Linked DNA regions of Homo sapiens: region 2 is linked to region 1. Evidence: promoter capture Hi-C in 16 types of primary human blood cells and fetal thymus (Javierre and others, 2016). All regions are on one chromosome and are shown on one strand. Each heading gives the region's core, a stretch centred on a gene start or on the middle of the fragment in contact. The rest is flanking DNA. Distances are from core to core; before and after follow the strand shown. Region 1 holds the start of PCDHB16 (protocadherin beta 16). Region 2 holds the start of PCDHB1 (protocadherin beta 1).

Evidence for each region. Contacts are between HindIII fragments. The CHiCAGO score rates a contact against its expected background, and 5 or more counts as called.
Region 2: the fragment with the promoter of PCDHB1 here is called in contact with the fragment with the promoter of PCDHB16 in region 1 in 3 of 17 cell types (M2 macrophages, neutrophils and M1 macrophages); the score reaches 6.1 in M2 macrophages.

What each region holds. Positions count from the first base shown.
Region 1 is chr5:141,178,514-141,184,075 of GRCh38, reverse strand. PCDHB16 (protocadherin beta 16) reads right to left here and starts at 1,689. Exons shown (of 1, transcript NM_020957.4): 1 at 1-1,689. The coding sequence starts at 1,516. It overlaps PCDHB8 (protocadherin beta 8), which reads right to left. Exons shown (of 1, transcript NM_019120.5): 1 at 3,537-5,562. The coding sequence ends at 3,636. It also overlaps PCDHB@. The HindIII fragment of the contact is 3,641 bases long and covers 1,550-5,190 here.
Region 2 is chr5:141,047,175-141,052,683 of GRCh38, reverse strand. PCDHB1 (protocadherin beta 1) reads right to left here and starts at 1,310. Exons shown (of 1, transcript NM_013340.4): 1 at 1-1,310. The coding sequence starts at 1,213. It overlaps PCDHB1-AS1 (PCDHB1 antisense RNA 1), which reads left to right. Exons shown (of 4, transcript NR_105056.2): 3 at 1,514-1,805. It also overlaps PCDHB@. RefSeq lists an enhancer at 901-1,729. The HindIII fragment of the contact is 4,524 bases long and covers 1-4,513 here.

The DNA of each region.
Region 1 (5,562 bases), core at 440-2,939:
TGGAGACCAGGGAGGCGAGGGGCAGGTGCGGGTCTTGGGGCGGCAGCAGCGAGTAGGTGACCTGGGCGTTGGTGCCCGAGTCTCTGTCTGTGGCGCTGACGCTGCCGATGTGCAGGGCGGGGCTGTTGTTCTCGCGGACGAACAGGGTGTAGGAGGTTTGGGTGAAAGTGGGGGCGTTATCATTGACATCTGATATCTGCACTGTTATGTTGTGCTCCGTTTTCAGCCTTGGAGTCCCCATATCTGTGACGGTGAGGGTGATATTATATTCAGCTCTTGCTTCTCTGTCGAGTGCTCTCTCCGTTACCAAGGTGTAAAAGTTCTTGACTGAAGGTTTTAGAAGAAAGGGAAGGTCTTCCTGGATGGAGGAAATCGTCTTCCCATTGTTTCCGGAGTCAGGATCTGAAACGCTGAAAACAGCAACTACTATCTCAGGCGAGTTCTCTGGGATGGGGCTGGTGAGTGCAGACATGGTCACCTGTGGGGGATTGTCATTCACGTCCACCACCTGCAGGAGAAGAGTGCACTTTCCTGAAAGACCTCCCCCATCTGTGGCTTTGATGCGCACTTCATAAGACGTAACCATTTCGAAATCTACTTGCTTTCTCAGTCGAACTTCCCCTGTCATAGGATTTACCTCCAAAGTTTTACTAATATCCTCCGAAGGCTGAAAGAGTGTGTATGATATTTTTCCATTGGCTCCGCCGTCTAAATCCCTGGCGGAGACGGTGGCAACCAGGGAGCCAAGAGGACTGTTCTCTGGAATCTGCACTTTGTAGATGGGCTGCTCAAACTCAGGAGCGTTATCATTGATGTCCACCACTTCAATACGGACCTGAGCAGTTCCAGATCGCGGTGGAGAGCCACCATCCAGCGCTGTCAGGGTTAATCTTAGTTGAGGCTCCTCCTCCCGATCCAGCTCTTTATCCAACACTAGCTCAGGGTATTTCCTGCCATCTCTGAATTCATGGATTAGAACCCGGAAATGAGAGCTTGGGCTGATTTTATAGTTTTGAACATTATTGCTTCCTACGTCCAAGTCCAAAGCATGATTCAGAGGGAACTCAGTTCCTAGAGGACTGTTTTCCGGTATTTTTAGAATCATTTCCTTTTCAGTGAACATGGGAGAATGGTCATTTATATCTATCACCCTCAGTTCAGCCTGAAATATTTCTAAAGGGTTTTCCATTAACACTTGGAAATGTAGTATGCAAGGCTCAGTGGGACCGCATAGCTCCTCTCGATCTAGCTTCTCATTTATGAGCAAATCCCCAGTTTGAGCCTTGAGCTGCAAATGCTGTTTGTTCCCCTGGGAAATGATCCTGGCCTTGCGGGTGGACATCTCTGTCAACCCCAACCCCAGGTCTTTTCCTAGATTTGCCACAAAAGAGCCTCTCTCCGTTTCTTCCACTACGGAATAGGACCCCAACTCGGCGCCCGCCCCAGACAAGCTCAGCAAAACAAAGAAAACAAGGACTTGCCTTTGTCTCCGATTGTGCATCCATCCAATCTCCATTGCTTTTTCTTGAAAAGTTGGTTCACAGAAGCTTCATGTATCCCCAGGATCCTAGTAGAACTGTTTTGCAGTCCAGAATGTCAGAACCAAGCAGCCCAACGGTGTCTTAAAGAGGTTTCACACTCACGTTCGCTCTGGCTCAGCTATTCTTCTGCTTCCAGGCTTTGGGAAACGGTTTGCTGGATCCTGGAGCTGCGTAGGCAGTTGTATTTTCCGTCATCTTAACCTGCAGCGCCACCACGCGTTCTCACTGAGTCTTTTACTGTGGTTGAATATTGGAGGCAAAATACTTCTAAATGTACTGAATAGACTATGTAATACAAAACACTGAGTTCTATTTTCATGTGACTTTCGTGTATACAGATGGAGCTCTGTGATGTTGTACAGGGAGGAGTACAAAGAGAAGACTGTCATTTATGTTATTGACTGTTTAATGCTGTTGAGATTAATGATTAAATAAAATTCAATGAACATTTAACCAGACATAGAATACACACTTAGAAGCAAAATTTTTCTGAAGTAACATGAGAACAGTTTCACAAGTACATCTTTTTCATGGTACCTATATAGACACTATGAGTAGACACTGCAAAATTGCAATCAGTGGTAGTTCTAAAGAGTATTTAACAATTGCTTTATTAAAGAATAAATTACTTCCTTTTCTTTCTGACACCTAACCCTGAGAAGTGTGAGTTTTTACAACTTTCAAGTTATTGGAAAATTCATTCCCAAACAAGCAAATCTCAAGGTTGGGTCTGCTACACTTTTGGATTCCCCCCACCCTTTTTTCATTTCAATGGCTTTTAATATATTCAGAGGTGTGCATCCGCCATCACAATTTTAGAACATTTTCATCTCAAGAGAAACCTTACCTCTTTTAATTATCACCGTACCCGTTCTCCCATCCCACTTATAAACATATGTGTGTGTGTGTGTGTGTGTGTGTGTGTGTGTGTGTGTGTGTAGGTTAACTGAAAAAGACTGAAGAAAGAGAATAAGAAATTCAAGAAATGAAACTATAGGTTAACTCTACTTCCTACTTAGACTCATTTCTTTAATAATGGATATGGCACGTAGAGAAAGTACAGGACTATAAATCAGGTTAATTCGCTCATCATAAAGTTCATTTGTAGTATCTGTCCCAGCATACTTAGAGCTTTGATAAGAACATGGGTATATTTGTGCAGAGTAGTATAAACAAACTATAAACTAAAACTTATATTTTCACATGAGAGTTTAGTTCATGGAGTAGGAGTAGGAATAACATAAATTTCACTTCCTTAGTTAGAAAAACAATGCTATCAGTTAATGCCTGACCATATAGCATATTGGCTAGACTTAGATTATATTTTAAATTTTTACCTTTATTATTTCAGAATTATAAGAAAGTTAATCGTTTTTTGTGGGGGGGAATGAGGTCTCACTCTGTCACCCAGCCTGGAGTGCAATGGCACAATCTTGGCTCACTGTAGTCTCTGTCTCCTGGGCTCAGGGGATCCTCTTACCTCAGCCTCCTGAGTAGCTGGGACTACAGGTTCGCAATCACACCTGGCTAATTTTTGTATTTTTGTTAGTGTCAGTGTTTTGCCCCATTGCCCAGGCTGGTCTCGAACTACTGAGCTCAAAGGGTTCAGCTTGCCTCAGCCTCTCAAAGTGTTATGATTACAGGTGTGAGCCACAGCTCACAGCCAAGTTACCTTTCTAAGCCTCAGTTTTCTCATATTTAAAAAAGGGGATAATATGTCAACTCCCTTAGGACTTGGGGAAACATTTAAAAGGCAATAAATGTAAAACATTCTCTACACCACTTTTAACTAAATTTTACCTAGATTAGAAATCAAAAAATAAAGGCTTAAAAAGATCAGTTACATTAATTTCTTCACTTCAGATCTGTGCATTTTACTATGTACATTTTAACAAAAATTGCACTGTTAAAGAATTATGATTAGAGTCCACTGGATATACTAATGAAGAGAAGATGAGATATCATTTTTTAAAACAGTGAAAACAAGACAAATACTATGGGCAAATGTAGTGTAATTTAAAATTTATGCTAAGTTGACAGAAAACCATTCCTTTGAATTGATCATAAAAATTAAAATATATAATATGAAATCAATTACTTTAACTGAAGGCTGAAACCAAAGCCATTCCTAAAGTTAGAGTTTTGTTCCATTTCTGGCCCAAAAGAATGGCCCTGAATATTAGGTAATACTGGTTTCAGGAGCTGGAACTCATTCGTCCCTGAGCCTCCTGCCAGGCACACCTCGTACTGATAGTTCTGAGACAGGCTCCCGGTGCCCCTCACGTCCACCAGATGCCCTGGAAAGGGGCCCTCAGGCACTGAGCAGCGACCCACCGAGGCCGCCCTGCTCCTCCTACACAGCAGCACCGCCACGAACAGGAGCACCGAGAAGAGGAAGAGCGAAGACACCGAGGCCAACGCCACCACCAGGTAGACGGTGAGAGAGTCGGCCTGGCCCTGGGCTGGGGCAGCCTCCGGAAGCGGCAGGTAGGGCTGGGAGAAGCCGTCCACCAGGAGCACGTGCAGCGTGGCGGTGGCCGAGCACGGAGGCTCGCCATTGTCCTTGACCAGCACCACCAGCCTCTGCTTGGCCGCGTCGCGCTCGCTCAGCAGCCTGGCGGTGCGCACCTCGCCATTGTGCGCCCACACACCGAACAGCCCGGGCTCCGTGGCCTTGAGCAGCTGGTACGACAGCCAGGCGTTCTGGCCCGAGTCGCCGTCCACCGCCACCACCTTGGTCACCAGGTAGCCCGGCTCGGCCGCCCGGGGCACCAGCTCGGTGCAGGGCGCGGAGCCATTCTGCAGCGGGTACAGCACGAAGGGCGAGTTGTCGTTGGCGTCCAGCACCAGCACGCGCACCAGCGCCTCGCTGCTCAAAGCCGGGGAGCCGCGGTCTGAAGCGCCCACCCGGAACTCGAACGCCTGCAGGGCCTCGTAGTCCAGCGACCTGAGGGCGAACAGGTGGCCGTTGTCTGTGTTGATGGAGACCAGGGAGGCGAGGGGCAGGTGCGGATCCTGGGGCGGCAGCAGCGAGTAGGTGACCTGGGCGTTGGTGCCCGAGTCTCTGTCTGTGGCGCTGACGCTGCCGATGTGCAGGGCGGGGCTGTTGTTCTCGCGGACGAACAGGGTGTAGGAGGTTTGGGTGAAGGCGGGGGCGTTGTCATTGACGTCCGACACCAGCACGGTCATATTGAGATGTGTTGTCAGCCTGGGTGTCCCTAAGTCAGTGACGGTGATAGTGACGTTGTACTCGGCTCTGCTTTCTCTGTCTAGTGGTGTCTCTGTTAGTAGGGTGTAAAAGTTCCCCACAGAAGATTTCAGGAGGAAGGGTAGATCCTCCTGAATGGAGCAACTTATTTTCCCATTTTCTCCTGAATCAAGGTCTGAAACACTGAAAAGTGCAACCACAGTTTCAGGCGCATTCTCAGGTATTGGGCTGGTAAATGCAGACATGGTAACTTCTGGGGCATGGTCGTTCACATCTATCACTTGAATCAGAACGGTGCATTTTCCAGAAAAGCCTCCAGCATCTCTCGCCTCGATATTGACTTCATAGGACTGAAATTTTTCGAAATCAAGTTGTTTCTTTAGTCGAATTTCTCCTGTCAAGAAATCGACCTTAAAAGTTTTGCTTATCTCATCTGAAGCTTGGAAAAGTGAATAGGAAATCTCTCCGTTGACTCCTGTGTCTACATCCGTGGCAGAGACCTTCACAACCAGGAAGCTTATTGGACTGTCCTCAGAGATCTGCACCCTATAGAAAGGCTGCTCAAATTCAGGGGCATTATCATTGACATCGACAACTTCAATGTAGACCTGAGCAGTGCCAGATCTGGGCGGAGAGCCACCATCCAGTGCTGTGAGTGTTAACCTGAGCTCAGCTTCTTCCTCTCGGTCCAGCGCTTTGTCCAGCACCAGCTCTGGGTATTTCCTGCCATCACTGCGTTTGCGGGTGAGGACCCGAAAATAGGAGTTGGGGCTGATTATATAGTTCTCAATATTGTTTTGGCCTATATCTAAG
Region 2 (5,509 bases), core at 61-2,560, 130 kb after region 1:
CCAGTGAGTAAGAATTCCCAAATGTAGGTTTGATTACAAAGGGAAGGTCTTCTCTGAGGAAGCAGGTGACTTTTCCTCCCACTCGAATGTCCCGGTCTCTGATAGTGAAAAGGGCTACTACTGTCTGTGGTGGTGAGTCTTCAGGGAGTGGGCTGGACACAGAGGAGACCATCACTTCGGGAGGATTGTCATTCACATCCACCACTTCTACCAGGACTTTGCTGTGGGCAGAGAGGCCTCCACCATCTGTAGCTTGAATGTCAATGTCGTATGTTTCAATGGCTTCAAAATCGAGGGGTCCTCTTAGTCGAACTTCTCCATTTTGAGGGTCAATCTGAAACGTCTTGAGAATTGCTTCTGGGTTTTGAGCTAAAGAGTAAGTTATCGCTTTGTTGGTGCCCTCGTCTAGGTCCACGGCAGTCACCGTGGCCACCAAAGAGCCATTGGGGCTGTTCTCTGATACCTGGGCTCTGTACACCAGTCGCGAGAACTGGGGCACGTGGTCGTTGACATCCAGAACCACCACGTGGATGTGAGCTGTGCCAGACTTAGGCGGGGACCCGCCGTCCACCGCCGTAATTGTCAAGTTGACTTCAGGCTGCTCCTCTCGGTCCAGGGGTTTGTTCAGCACCAGCTCAGCATATTTAGGCCCGTGGCTGCAGAAGCGGGTGTGCAGGTGGAAATACCCATTGGCACTCAGGGTGTAGTTCTGGAGACCGTTAAGGCCCACGTCCAGATCCTGGGCGCTCTGCAGAGGAAAACGTGAACCCAAAGGGGTGCTCTCCGGAATCTTTAAAAGCGGCTCCTTGTTTAGGAAAACTGGGGCATTGTCATTGATATCAAATACCCTGACCTCGGCCCGGAAGGACTGCAGCGGCTCCACCAGGACTACTTCAAAGTGCAGAACACAAGGGTCGGCTTTGCCACAAAGTGACTCCCGATCCAGTTTCTCCTTCACAAACAAATCTCCCGTCTTGCGGTGGAGCCGGAAATGCATTTTGTTGCCCTCGGAAACCAGCCGCGCCCCGCGCGCAGCCAGCTTCCCTACCTCCAGTCCTAGGTCCTTAGCTACGTTGGCCACAAACGAGCCGCTCTCCATTTCCTCTGCCACTGAATAGCGGATAGTTGTCGCATCCCCCACAGATATGCACAGAAAAATGAGAAGAGATCCCACTTGCCTGTTTTGCAAAGATTTTCTGCGCGTACCCGCCATCAGTTCTCACAAGCGCGCTCTCTGCAATCAGAGCCAACTGTTGCGGATATACTTTCACTTTTCTGCAACAGGTTACTGCAACAGCTGCTCTCCGCTTCACTAGCCTCTAACTGCAGCACCACCAAAGGCTAGCCGAGCCCATTAAGCTGTTTTGCACTTGAAAGAAAATTTGCATTGAGCGACTCAACTCCCCAGTCTAGCGAATGTATTAATAGATATGTTCTCATTCCGGAGAGTTAGGTAGAGGTTGAAAGTTTGTTGCCAAAGCAACAACAGACTCACCTGTTAATTCCCTTTCAGGAAAAAAAGTCCTTGGGAATTGAGAAGCCAATGAGATTAGTCGTTCAAGCTGAAGTCATTCTATCTGCTAGCTGTCTGGAGCCACTGAAGCTGTGGGCGAACAGCAACAAGTTTAAGCTACATCTGCACACTCTGCGGTCCATCCAGAGACCAAGAAAGAAGCACAAGGATCCTGCAGAGTCTTCCGAAGCCCAAGCCAAATATATGAGGCAGGGAGCTAGAGAATGTGGAGGAAGTGGTCAGTAGGAAAAGGAATGGGAACAGACATTCTCCTTCAGAAACTTGAGGTCCAGTAAGTACACTGACAGGGGACTAAGCCAACTGACCTCTTGATTTGCACTACGCTATCATGCTACTTCTACGTATTCGCTCCGCCCCCCTCCAAATATCTGTATACACGTGCACAAAGGGAGCAGCTGGCTTGTCACTTATGATTATAATGGCAGTAGTATTTATTGGATATGATTTCCATGTACTGAGACTATGACAAGTGATTTACATGCATTATTTAATTTAATACTTGCAACAACTATATGGAGTAGACATTATTAAAAAAAAAAAAAGACAAAGAAAGTGAGATGGGAGAGGTTATGTCAAGGTCCCCTACCTAGCAAATGTTAGAAATAAAACTCAATTTAATTTTGTCTGACTCCGAAGTCTATGCTCTTAATCAGTACACTACTCTGCTTCCCAGATAATATAATGAATAAATCAAATGAAGATAAATATTTGGTTTTGGATTTTAAAGCAAATAAAATAAGATTGCTTACACATATTGAAAATGACCTAATAGAAATATAGGAGATATTTGTTGAGTTTCCTTTATGATCATAGGATAATAGAATGTTTAATAAGACATTTCAGAAAGATGAGATCCAGTCTCCTTCTCACCCACTCTCCACTTTAAAAAAAAAAAAAAACAGATGAAGAAACTAAGGCCCGAAGTGATGAAGTCACTTGCCCAATTCATACAGCTACTCATGGCAGTGTAAGAACTAGAACTTGTCTTCTGATGCTGTCTCATGCTCATTACCTAAAACATTTGATTTCTCATTTGTGCTCAATACTTTATGTCCCAGGTGCTATAAAATTATGGCCACTTAACGGAAATCTAACTATATTTTCCAATAGGAAAAAAAGAATGAAAGTAGAAAGTGTACAGAACATTAATTACATCCTGACATGAGGGAATTAATGAATCTCTCAATCTCTGTCAGTTATTTTAACACCTGGCTTAAGTGTGCATCCTTAAACAGTTTAGTTTTGCCTCTTTTGAAAACTATATATCTTACTTGAGTATGAGTAGAAATAAAACAAAACTATGTATCAAGTAAAGTGTACAGTAGGTAATCCTTTGAATTTTGTTTCTTTCCCTCATTTTTTAGCTCAATGTAAGATTGGTGTTATCTTTAGCTCTAGTTCATTTATTTCCATTACCGTATAAAATACCAATATATTGTCAATGTCCTTTAGCTAGAGACCATCAGACACACACCTGTAGTTGAACAAAGTTATATTTACTGACTTATTATAACAAGGGAAGCTGTACACCATAGAGAGTCATGGAGCATCTCAGTGAAACGGTGTTAGAAAGAACATATATTTGGTCTTGTGTTAGATGATTTGGGGGAGGTTTGAAGCAGAGTGCTCTGGATTGGATGTCATCATAAGTGGAGTTAACTCTATGATGAGTATATTGATAATTCTTATGTAGAAGGTGAGAGGAAAGGGGTGAGGCTAACTCTGTGATTGGTAAGTAAGCTGAAGTGACTAATACTAGCCAGGACAGAAAGATGTTTGGGCATTTTTGTGGATTGGACAATACTCTTTTTTGTCTGTATTTAGACACACTTATGGTGTGCTCTCATTTTCCTCTTGCTCCATCATAGTCATGGTATGGCCTTGTCTGATACTGGTGTCCTATGAAATCATTTTTTGTTCAACAGAAGATCACTATGTCCTAGCTGTGAGTGTCAGGCCAGCTCCTAGCTCTCGTGGACTGCTTTTGTCTTTTTCAGTATGAATGCAGCAAAATGCATTTACCTATTTTATTATTCTGCTGCTCATAGCATATCATTGTACGTGTCACTTTGTGCACATGTATACACATATTTTGGGGGGGAATATATACATAGAAGTAGCATTGATATCATAGGATATGTTCTTTTCAGCTTTACGTGATGTCACCAAACTGCTTTCTAAGAAGTTGTACTGGCTGGGCGTGGTGGCTCACGCCTGTAATCCCAACACTTTGAGAGGCCGAGGCAGACCAATTATGAGGTCAGGAGTTCAAGATGAGCCTGACCAACATGGTGAAACCCCGTCTCTACTGAAAATACAAAAATTAGCCAGGGATGGTTGTGCGTGCCTGTTATCCCAGCTACTCAGGAGGCTGAGGCAGGAGAATCACTTCAACCCAGGAGATGGAGGTTGCAGTGAGCAGAGATCGCGCCATTGCACTCCAGCCTGAGCCACAGAGTGAGACGCCATCCAAAAAAAAAAAAAGTTGTACTGATTTACACTCTCATCAGCAGTGCAACTTCTAGTTGCTCAAATTATTTCCAACACTTAGAATTACTAGTCTTTTAAAATTTTGACCATTCTGGTGAGTGACTGTGTTTACATTTCACTGATTAATTTGCATTTCTCATTAATTATTGATGAAGTAGACACTATTTAATATATTTGTAGTCATTGGAATATCATTTTTTGGGAAGTTTTTGTTCAGTTCTCTTGCCTTTTTTTAACATTGCATTGTTTACCTTTTTTTCTATTAATTTCTATTACTTCTTTATGTTCTATGAGTCCTGAATATATTAAAAAAGATGTTTATGCTTAGTCAATATACATAAACAGAGAATAGCCTTGAGCAATTTCGATAGAAAAAAAAAATGGAGTATACTACCCACTAATGTTATTTAGCATCATCAAAAAGGCTATTGGGGAGGTTTTTTTTAAAAGGAAATATTTATTTAGTGATTCACAAATTATGCAGAAGCTTCTGACATCCTAGGAAGTCTTAATACAATCAATTTCAAAATAATTCATCAAAAAAATTGTAAGTTAACAAATACATTCTTGGCTGGGTGTGGTGGCTCATGCTTGTGATCCTAGTACTTTAGGAGGCTGAGGCAGGAAGATCACTTGAGGCCAGGAGTTTGAGACCAGCCTGGGTAACATAGCAAGACCCTTGTCTCTACATACATACATACATAAATAAGGCATGGTGACAAAGCCTGTAGTCCCAGTTACTTGAGGGGAGAGCATTGCTTGAGGTCAGGAACTTGAGGTTACAGTGAGCTATGACTGTACCACTGCACTCCAGCCTGGGTGACAGAGTCAGTATCTGTCTCAAAACAAAAAAAATTCTTATGAGGTGAAGTTTAAGCAATGCTGCTTTTCTTTTTTTATTTTCTTTTTTTTTGTTAGTTTATTTTTAACTGACAGATAAAATTAATCATAGACAACATAGTATTTTGTAGCATATTTATATTGTAGAATGACTAAATTCAGCTAATTAACATATATATTACCTCACGTAGTTATTATTTTTGTGGTGAGAATATTTACCATCCATGTCTTGGGCATTTTTCAAGAATATGGTACATTGTTATTAACTATAGCCACCATGTTGAATAATAGATCTTTTGAACTTATTTCTCCTAACTGAAATTTTGTATCCTTTTGGCTCTCCAACCTCTCCTTCCTCATCCCAGCCCCTGGCAACCACCATTCTACTCTCTAGTTCTATGAGGTCAACTTTTTAAGATTCCACGTATAAATGAGGTCACACCATTATGAAAAACAGTATAGAAGGTCCTCAAAAAATTAAAAATAGATCTACCATAGAATCCAGCAATCCCACTACTGGGGATATTTTCAAAGGAAATGAAATCAGTATGTTGAAGAGATATCAGCACTCCCATGTTCATTGCAATATTACTCACAATAGCTGAGATATGGAATCAGCCTAAGTGCCCATCGGTGGGTAAATGA